2 separate regions of the Homo sapiens genome follow, and region 2 is linked to region 1. The links are contacts of gene promoters, found by promoter capture Hi-C in blood cells and fetal thymus (Javierre and others, 2016). All regions are on one chromosome and are shown on one strand. The core of a region is centred on a gene start or on the middle of the fragment in contact, and the rest is flanking DNA. Distances in the headings are between cores, read along the strand shown.

Region 1 (5,302 bases), core at 1,300-3,799:
GAACTGTCTGCGCAATTTACAATAATCCTCCACATACTTTGGATATTAAAGATCTTATCTTACTAATTGTCATAAGAGGTAATTTAAATTTAAACTAACCATTTTGCTTATTGCATTTTTATATTGCCCTCCACTAATCAATGAACACTGAATATTGAAATAATGTAAAAGACCTATTTCCCGCTAGCTTTAACCGATTTGTCATAAACACCTTTCTTGTATATGATTTTTAAATGTTTGCTAAATATTAAAAAGAATTCAATGTGTTTGGTTTTGTAAAATTACATATCGAATGTGTATAATTTTTTACTACCATGTTCATCACACTTAATCTATATCCATATATTGTACTCCACCAATATTTATCAGTGGACAATAAAGAAGTTTTGAATGCATGAATGCAACTTAAGAGGCACCACACTTGGTTATTTTGCAATGCCAGAATAACGGTGGGTATTCACAAATTGAATAGATAATCCAGATTATGTTTCCTCCAATTTAAGTTTTTCTGGGTTTTTTTTTCCCCCTTCCTAGAATCAATTTTATCATTTTACCTATGTACAATAATATACTTCTGGAAAATGCTAGAATTTTCACCATGTAACAGAATTTGAGCATGACAGTAATGTAAAAATATTCAGAAGTCTCGAACTATAGGTTTGAGTTTTCAAAGTAAATCAAAATACAGCTGTTTTCATTTTACTAGATTGTGGAAACCTATGGATGTTATTGTAAAATGCATATGCATTACACTGACTTTCTTAAAATGTTTTGAATTAATAAAGAATTCAACAATGTATCCTTAGAAAGTTACTGTTTCCTCATTGGTATATAACACTATAGGAATAAAAGGTACACTTCTATGTGTTACTTAAATTGCTTATGCACTTGGGGGAAAATAAAATTCTGGCTAGATTCTTTACATTGTTCTATAAGGTTTTAATTATTAAAATGTTTCACCTTTTATAAATAATAAAATATATTGTTGAAATGACTTATGTTCTGAGAACTCAACTGAGAGATATACCATGTTGAGTTCAAGTGATTCTCACCATTTCCATGGTTAAGATAAATTCAAAGTTAAGTTCAGACTTGGGAAACAATTGTTCTAATAGAGATAAAAACATCCTGATCAGTCCTGTTCTATCCTCAGATCAGGATTAAAATAAAATGGGTTTCAACAGCAGAACGATTGTATAAAGTTGTGTAGCTTGAATACACAAAGTGAAAAGAACTGAGATAATTAGGTGGAGCCTTTAAGTAGCAAAAAACTATTTTTGCTTCCTGATGTTTGAAGAGTCATTTCATTCTTCCACTCACTCTGCATTTGTTATCGTGCTAAGAGATGAAAAGAGAGAGGCAATGCAAACGTTATTTTCTAAGAATGTTTATACTTAACAGTTTCGATTAGATGACCTAAGGATATTTTAACCTTGATAAGGGTTCCCATTTTTTACCATTTTATTTTTTATGAATAAATTAGAAGTTTCGTACTTCTAATATATCACCTCTCTCAACAGTGAAATACCACTTAGTAGACGCTGCCCAAACCAGTTAGGTAGTGGCAGTTCTCAGATTGAGCGTTTAGCCCTTGCATTCCCAGGACTGTCTTGGTTGTGTTTATTCCCTCATATTTATTTCTCCGTTGAGCTGTGAACAGGTCTTTTGAAAAGTGCAAAGCATTGTGCCAATAAATGTCGGTATTGCTGGCACCTATCCGCTACCAGTTCTTTGGAAAGGGATGAGGGTTGGACTCCTGGAGGCAGATATCTGAAGGCTTTGTTGGGCTGTAGGTTGCTGTAACACGGAATCACTCCACCTCTTTAAAAAGCTGACGATAAGTGGGACTAAGTGAAAATGAATGGGCAGGTGAATAATAAAGTCCTTTGAAAGCAAGTAAATGACGCGGCAGATGAAGGGCACGCACGTCTATTGTGCAAATTCATTCAGTGGTTATCTCATAATACACTTATCAAGTCCTTATTACCACGAACCTCACCCACCGTGGACAAGAGAAACATAAGCAGGAAAAAAGGAGGAGGAATAAACACACGCCTGTCCATAATAAAACTCGCTCTTGAAGACTCAGCGGCAGCCCTGCACCGGAGACTGACGACTTGCGCGGCTGTGACCTCCGCCCTGCAGCGGACCCTCGACTGCCCTGCACTGCGGCTCTGGAGGCCCCGACTCAGTGCATGGGAAAGAAATCCTCACTATCAGAAAACAGAGGGGCAATCTGCTGCTCTCCCTTTCCGGCCAAACACGTCACCCATCAACCGGATACCTACCAAGAGGCTTTCAGAGGAGGCGCCCAAGGTCTCCCAGGCCCGCCCCTCCCCAATCACGCTCCGCTCAGCCCCCTCAACTTTTGGCCTCCGGGAAGTTCGCAGCGTTCTCACGCTTGGCAGGAAGTTCCCGCCAAGGCTTCCGGAAAATCCTTTAAAAAGCAACGCTTGCGCTGGGCGGGGCTTGGTGCGCTCTCACCCTTATCTCCAAATTCTGGGTGTTGTCGCGAGGGCTGCTGTGTCCGGAACTTCCGGTTCCGGTCAGGGTCCGCGATCTCGGACTAAGGATGCGGTCCCGGGTTCTGTGGGGCGCTGCCCGGTGGCTCTGGCCCCGCCGGGCCGTTGGCCCAGCCCGCCGGCCCCTGAGCTCCGGTAGCCCGCCGCTGGAGGAGCTGTTCACCCGGGGCGGGCCCTTGCGGACCTTCCTCGAGCGCCAGGCGGGGTCTGAAGCCCATTTGAAGGTCAGGAGGCCCGAGTTGCTGGCGGTGATCAAACTGCTGAACGAGAAGGAGCGGGAGCTGCGGGAGACTGAGCACTTGCTGCACGGTAAGGGTCGGGCCCGGGGGAGAGGCGTCAGAGCACATTCTTGACTCTTCGTTTGACTTTTCCACTGCCCACACTACCCGAGTTTGAAACTCTTTACTCACTTGCAGCCGTTTTTATTTTGGATCAGAGGTCAGGACATCATTACGTGCTGTGATCCCATCCTCTCCTGTGGGCTCTCTTGTGCTCCTTTGCCACGGCGCTCTGCCGCCTTTTACATGCTTATTAGTTGTGGACTCGGGCAAGAGCTCATTAGCTCAGCAAGGATAAATAAGGCACTGTCCCTGTGATGGGCTCCACAGCGGTGTTTCTCAAAGTGTGGTGTGGAGACCCATTTGCAGTAGTATCAGGGCAGTGCTTGTTAATAGCAGACTTAGGACTCAGAATCTCAGACCTATACGTGGGTAAAGGTACTAAATTGGGAAATTCAGTATGGCCTAAGTATAGAATAGGTGGGAGATGATGTCATAGAAACATGAAGCCAGAAAAATAGTTAAGAACCTTGCAAGACAAAGAATTTGGATTTATTTTTTATAGACCATGGAAAGTTAGCAAATGTTTTTAAGCAGAGAATTCACGTCTTTGTAAAGAAAAGTTAATGGTGGCATGCGCTGAGGATAAATTGGAGTATTCTCCAGAAACGCTGGTGGCTGACAGGCCAGGGAGGAGGCAGTTGAAACAATCCAAAGAAGAAATGGTGATAGGCATAGTTCTGACTCACAAAACATTTTGAGAAACAAGTTAGGATTTAGTGGCTTATGCCCTGAGAAGGATGAGGGAGAGAGTTAGTTCTAAGAAAAGTCTTAGGTTTCTGGCTTCAGCACGAGTGGTACTGTTAATTAAGATGAAAGTATAAAAGTTGGACCGAATTTTTTAAAAAGATGAGTTTTGCATTGAATGCCATATTAAGTTAAAAATACCTGTGAAAAGGAATTCCAATAAAGATATCTGTACTAGTCTAGGAGAAAAAATTACTGACATAGGAGAAAAATTGAGCCCAAATAATCATATGAGAGCTCTCGAGATATACAGTACGTGGTAAATTAAACCTTAGAAGTAGATGAGAACACTCAGGGAAAATGTGTTAAGATAGAAACAAGTCTAACAAGGCCAGAAATACACAGTATTTGAGGAGCAGGCAGAGAAGAAGGCTATAAAAGGTCAAGAAAAAAACAGCCAGAGCTTTGTGACCCTGAAGTAGATAAATAAATGAAGCTGTAGAAGCCAATAGAAAATTTCAAGAAGTAAGAGATCCTTGGCCAGGCGTGGTGGCTCACGCCTCTAATTCCAGCACTTTGAGAGGCTCAGGTGGGCCGATCACTTGAGCCCAGGAGTTCGAGACCAGCCTGGGTAACATGGCAAAACCCTGTCTCTACAAACAATGCAAAATTAGCTGGGCATGGTGGTGCGTGCCTGTGGTCCCAGCTACTTGAGAGGCTGAGGTGGGAGAATCGCTTGAACCCGGGAGGTGGAGGTTGCAGTGAGCCAAGATGGTGCCACTGCATTCCAGCCTGGGTGACAGCGCAAGACCCTGCCTCAAAAAAAAAAAAAAAAAAAAAAAATCCGTAGTACCTGACATAGAAAGGTAAAACAACCTTTTCAGCTCACACTGAAATAAGTCTTTAGATTTGGCAATTTTGTCATTGGTAACTTGAATAAAAATGGTCTTGATATGATTATAGAATCCAGTGTAACAGCTTGAGAGGTAAATTAGAGTTAACAGGAGAAAAGTTATAAAAATGGCATTTTATCTCCAGAAATCTGGGTGGGAAAAGAGGGGTGACAATAAGCAGCTACTTAAAGGGTTGAAAAGAAAAGGACCCATTTAGAATGGGAAACCATAAACATCTTTATAGGCAAAGGGGAAGGCAGGCACATGGTAGGTGTCCAGTAAACATATGTTGATTTATAATATTCAAGAGAAATTAAAGAAGTAGTATATTACCATTGCCTGTGAGTAACTCCTAATTCTAAACCCTTTAGAGCTGCACTGTCCAATATAGTAGCCAGTAGCCACACAGCTGTTGAGCAATTTGTGGCTAGTCTGAATTGAGGTGTGTAAGTGTAAAATACATATAGATTTCAAACACCTGGTATAAAAAGTAATATGTTTATGTTAATTACATGTTGAAATAATATTTGGAGCATATTGGGTTAAATAAAATATAGTATTAAAATTAAATTACTTCTAGACTCTAGTTCCAATCTCCTTAGCTTTGCAGAACTGAAAGGCACCTTAGAGATTATCCAGCTCAGAACTTTCATTTCATTCTTGTCATAACTGAAAGAAGTTGAGCCTATTGCCCTAACAGTACCTTAGCGATTAAGCTAGGGCTAGAATTCATTTTTGCTTTTCCTAACACATTTTCCATTCTACCAAATTTCTTCCATACCATATGCTTGCCAAAATAATTTTCAGCAGTGCTTCCTGTACTTGCTTATCTCAGTTTTGCTGTTGTTATTCTCTCTCCTTG
Region 2 (5,302 bases), core at 1,046-3,545, 430 kb after region 1:
TAGGTTAGCAATGTGACTTCTTTAAAGCCCTGCATTAATTATACTTCTAATAAGATTCTTTCTATCGTTGAGCCACTTGCAACAGCAAGTTTTATTCTTTGTCAAGAACAAAAACACTTTATTAGCTGCAGTGATTGTAGCCTTCCTATCTGAAGCTCAAATTAATTTAAAGAAATGACAAAAAAATGCCTTCTTAACATATGAACAATTTTGATTGTCTGACAATAAAAGCTGGCATTTTATATGTGTATGTGTCTCTCAAGTTATTTTTAAATTACTAAAAATGCTATTTGCTTTAGACCCCAATCTATTTTCCATATATCTTTTGTTAGTGCTCAATCATGAAGTCAAATTGTGTCTCCATTTCCTGTTTGCTTTGAGGGTGATCTACTCTTCTTTAATCTAATCGGACTAAATGTGATTACACTCAGGGAAGCACAAATTCAAAGTTGGATTTTTCCACTAATTCTTGACAGCCAGATTTAGAGGAGTGTAAAATAATTTCCCCACTTCCTGTAGCTAATTTGAATAGGAAGGTCAAGAATCTGGCTATCTGTCCTTATACCTGCTGTGACTGAAAATATGACAAGGTTTTGAAAGCCTTTGTTCTGTGTGCCCCTGTGTCACTTGGAAAATACCTGTGTCTTTTTGGGGTAGCCTGCATCCCCTAGTAGTTAATTATTTAGTTACTTACCTCTGACAGATCTAACAAGGTAGGCCTTAGAAGTTAATCTGGTGGCAAAAGGAGTAGGTTTAGAAAGGAAAACACACCAAATTGCATAGGATTTGTCATCAAGAAATTTGAGTATAATGTACTCTTGGAAACTGAGTGATTGGAAGAAAAACCTAACACTGTCTAAATACATGGGAGTGTTGTAAACTGCATAGTAGGACTCAAAAACCAAGACTGTGCTATGTGCTAGTATTTCTGCTGTAAATGCCTAGTAATTCCTTATTCCCAATCTGTAGTTGGACCTTGAACACTGGCTCACGCAAAGCAAGTTCTATTGATTTTATTTATATCCTATAGATACAGAATGTGAATGCATACCAATAACTGCAAAAGCAAGCAGCTAACGCAGATTAGAGTTAACATTAGCAAAGAAAGATGGGTTGGTACTTATTTTTTTGAAAAAACACAGCAGGAACAATTTAATAGCTGACTGAATTGCTACCAGAAAGACATGCACAGGCACGTTTGCTGATTAGCCGAGGTCCACTTTGTTCTTATTTGGCAGATTATGCAATAGCCGTTTCCCAGAACATTACTAATAATGCTGCAAGAATTATAAGAGAAAGTTTGTTTACACTGAATATTTTAAAAGAGATTACAGTCACCTCAAGTTGCTAAGATAGAAAGTAATAATGTAGCATGCATTAAATGCCTATTACATTCCAGGCACTGTGCTATGTGTTTTGCATATACATTGTTCATTTAGCTTTCAAGCAACCCTGTGAGGTAGCTGTTAATAGTTTCCTCATTACAGTGATGATGAAACTGATGTTCTGATAGGCTGAGAAACTTGTTCAAGGTTGCATAGCTAGTAAGTTGTGGCAAATCTAGGCTGTTCTGACTGCAAAGATCATGTTTATTTATGTTGACTCCACAATCTTAAAATGGAACAACAGCCTATTGGATTACTGAACTGTAGTGAAATGCAATATAACTTCTCTTTTTCATGTTTTCAGCAGTTTGCATAAATAAATTGTTGAACAACTATTTTAAGATTCTAAAGCTGTGGTTTTTGAATTCTAGTTCGGATAAGAATGACATGAGGAGTGTGTTCCAATGCAGACCTCTAAGCCTTGTCTCAGAGAGTCTTGGGGCATCTAATGCAGAACCCAGGAAGCTCCATCTCTAGTGAGCATTGCATTCTGATGTCATTCGTCCATGAAACACATTTTGACAGATACAAATCTAGAGGCATGTAATTCAGCCCAGACCACTAAATAAAAGCTTCATTCAGAATTGTTCTGCTCAATGCAGTATGACATTAGGAAAAACTTTATCAGGTGTTGCTCCTTGAAATAGTCCTTTAGGGCATTTATTACATTCCCAGATTGAAGACCACCATCCTATACCACCGGAGTTAGAGAAAACCTCATCAACTGTACCCACCACCATCATGTGTCATTCAGGGATGGGATTATAGCTTAGATGGAAGAGTTCTTACATTTCATGTTTGGTACATTCATTCACATTTATTTTTCTTAAGAAAGCATAATTCCAATGGTTATTCTCTTAAAATAAGTACTTCCATGGTGGCTTAAAGAACCTAAAGCCACAGAAATGAAAAGCAAACAAAATTAAAAACAAACAAACAAAACAAAAAACAAACCAAAAACAGCTAAGAGTGAACTGACGTTTCAAGAGTCCTGCTCTATAAGGATTTGACTGAATGGTGCCTGTCCCAAGGATCTGAAAGTGTTAGTGTGCCTGAAAAAAACAGAAGTTAGATTATACATTGGGGAAAATTACTTTGATTACCTTAGTTACTTCAAATACCTTAATACTTTCATGCAAACATATAAAGTGTATATCCTTCAAGTGGGGTTTTCCATGGTTGAGAAACAACTACGGTATTTACTTAGCACCTATTATGCTCATCTCCTTTCCTTCCCTCAAAGCTTCATTTAGTCCAATTAATGAGATAAGATTTGGATTGATTACCAGACTGCTTAAGCTTAATCAACCAACAAAGACTGAAGAGAGTCATGAAAGAAGTGAGAGCAAGAGGAGGAAGGGCATCCCAGTCCTTGTTGTTCAATTACAGCAATTAACTGTCAGGTGCAGAAAGGAAAGGCAAGAACAAGAGCAAAGAGGAGGTAATTACACAGGGTTGAGCTTGGGGATGCCTTTGCAGAGGTGCAGACACGTTTCTGAGGCAACTCTCCAGATCTCATCTACGAAAACAACAAATATATATTATATATATTTCCTCTCTAAACCTACTCCTTTTGCCACCAAATTAACTTCTAAGGCCTATCTTGTTATATCTGCCATATATATATATATATATGTATATATTTATGTGTATATATATATGTGTGTATATATATACATATATATGTGTATATCCCATTATATATTCCATAACTGTAGATTTGGCCCATTTTCTCCATTCTCACCCCGTTATGAGGCTCAAATCATAGTTACAGCTGGGGACTTCATTTAATTTGTTTTTAAGAATCTGTAACTCATAAAGAGATGACTCAGAGCTTGGTTGAACATCTCTAATGTTTTTGCTTCCCCCAGCTCCCACAGCCCGTAAAGTTAAAATATGTTCTGTGCTTCCAACAGGTGAAGCAGAGCTTTGATGCTATTATGCTGTATCTAACAATGAACCTGTTTTGTTTCTTAGTCATAGAAGTTTGCTGTATATGATGCATACTCTTTTAGGATGGGTAGATGCTATTGTTACTGTTAGTTTGATCATTTTCTTCAAAGTTTTAAAAAATAATTAACCTAATTCTTGAGCATATGAATTAGAGTGTCAAGGTAACAGACTTTTATAGGGAAATCTTCAGAAAATGTAGGCAGAAAAGTTATGATTTATGAGAGTCCCAATATTACATTCTTGACATTTCTTGAAGATAGGTTCTAAATCTTCTTGAACATTTTTTCCTGTTTTCAAAATTAGAGAATGGTAAGTTGGGGTCATCTGAGGAAAGAAGAGTTGTGAGCAATGGAATCCAACCTGCTTTTTCATCACTTCTCTTCAGTTTCAGTTAAAAATGTCAGCCTTGGAAACCATCATTCTCAGCAAACTACCGCAAGGACAAAAAACCAAACACCGCATGTTCTCACTCATAGGTGGGAATTGAACAATGAGAACACATGGACACAGGAAGGGGACCATAACACACCAGGGCCTGTTGTGGGGTGGGGGGAGGGGGGGGGATAGCATTAGGAGATATACCTAATGCTAAATGACGAGTTAATGGGTGCAGCACACCAACATGGCACATGTATACATATGTAACAAACCTGCACGTTGTGCACATGTACCCTAAAACTTAAAGTATAATAATAATAAAATTTAAAAAAAAATCAGCCTCCTCTATAGAGACCTCAAGTAGGTAATGCCCAGAGGGGAGTCTCCACCTCTAAGTGCCTCGCCCTTAGAAAAGTATTCCTTTCTCTTTCTTTACCTTTAATTTTTCATTGCCTGAGGATATTCAACAAGGTGTTATCTAATTCGAGCAGTTGACAATGAGGTGTGAATGTCAAATAGACATTCCCAGAAGGAATCCTTCCCAGAAGGTGTTTACATTCCTAAAATGTTTATTAGACCAAAGGCAACTCCCTCTTTCAGAATTTGTGGCTGATTTGTTTTTGTATGCTCTGTTGGCTTTTCCTGCCTTCCCTCATAAACTAAATGACCCAGAAAACATCAACACACATCATTCACACACAACACCCATGAACAAATACCATGGAATAACTTTTATTCCACAGCTTTTGGCATTACACCAATTCATTCCCCTTACCTCCGCTCTCTCTCCTTTTTAAGTTACTCTTCATCCCTAGCGAAAGTGAGTTGCCCTTCAGGAAAGACTTTTTCTGGAACGAATCTTTCCAACTGCAGAGGAGCTTTTGAGTATCTGGCAACGATGAGTAGTATTACTGACATTCTGGTTTTGTGACGTTGGGCGGGTCATAGACTCTGGAGCTGTTTCCTAATCCATAAAAAGTGCTCTTATTCTAGAAATCTATTATTCTGGGAGTCCCCTTATTCTGTTTATTGGCTTTGAAGCTCTTCCAATCCAAACAATTTCTCCCATAAGTCATAGGAAATGAGCACTTTTACAAAAAGCAAGACATTGAGGACTGAAGTGAGTCATTCTAACAGCTAATTAGATTGTTGTGCATTTTGGATACATGTAATTAATGGACCCTCCTTTAAGAATAGTGAGAAGAACTGAATTGGCAAAATGGACAAAAATAGAACATACTTTGGTTTGTAAAAGTTTGAATTTACGTAAGATGGTAGTAACATTACCTCAATTGTTACACTTCATTACAGTAAAATGCTAAGTATTATATTATGCAATGACAATAGAAATATCACTCAGACACCTCAGAAGTGTCATTAAAGATGTAGGCATTATGCAAAAATATATTTGATTTCTACTTGCCTTTTCAAATGCTTCAGGCAAAAGGTCAGTCCAAGATTGCGGTGATAAAGCTGCCCCCACCCCAACCCCTTCTTTAATTCAGGAAGTGACTAGAGTTTTGTTATTGTAATTACAAATATGATAATTTCCTGGCAAGGAAATTTTTAAAAACTGTGATGATGCA

The links. The method cuts DNA at HindIII sites, captures the fragments that hold promoters and counts their contacts. A CHiCAGO score of 5 or more calls a contact.
Region 2: a contact is called between a fragment that was not itself captured here and the fragment with the promoter of MTRF1L in region 1, in 1 of 17 cell types (neutrophils). The highest score is 7.7, in neutrophils.

Annotation. Positions count from the first base shown.
Region 1 is chr6:152,999,956-153,005,257 of GRCh38, reverse strand. MTRF1L (mitochondrial translation release factor 1 like) reads left to right here and starts at 2,549. Exons shown (of 7, transcript NM_019041.7): 1 at 2,549-2,831. The coding sequence starts at 2,573. It overlaps RGS17 (regulator of G protein signaling 17), which reads left to right. Exons shown (of 5, transcript NM_012419.5): 5 at 1-799. RefSeq lists enhancers at 2,192-2,301, 1,392-2,392 and silencers at 2,622-2,731, 2,742-2,801. The HindIII fragment of the contact is 13,608 bases long and covers 1-5,302 here.
Region 2 is chr6:152,571,922-152,577,223 of GRCh38, reverse strand. All of the region lies in intron 3 of SYNE1 (spectrin repeat containing nuclear envelope protein 1), which reads left to right. Among named protein-coding and RNA genes, the nearest start is that of SYNE1, 63 kb to the left of the region's middle. RefSeq lists an enhancer at 3,957-4,519. The HindIII fragment of the contact is 671 bases long and covers 1,960-2,630 here.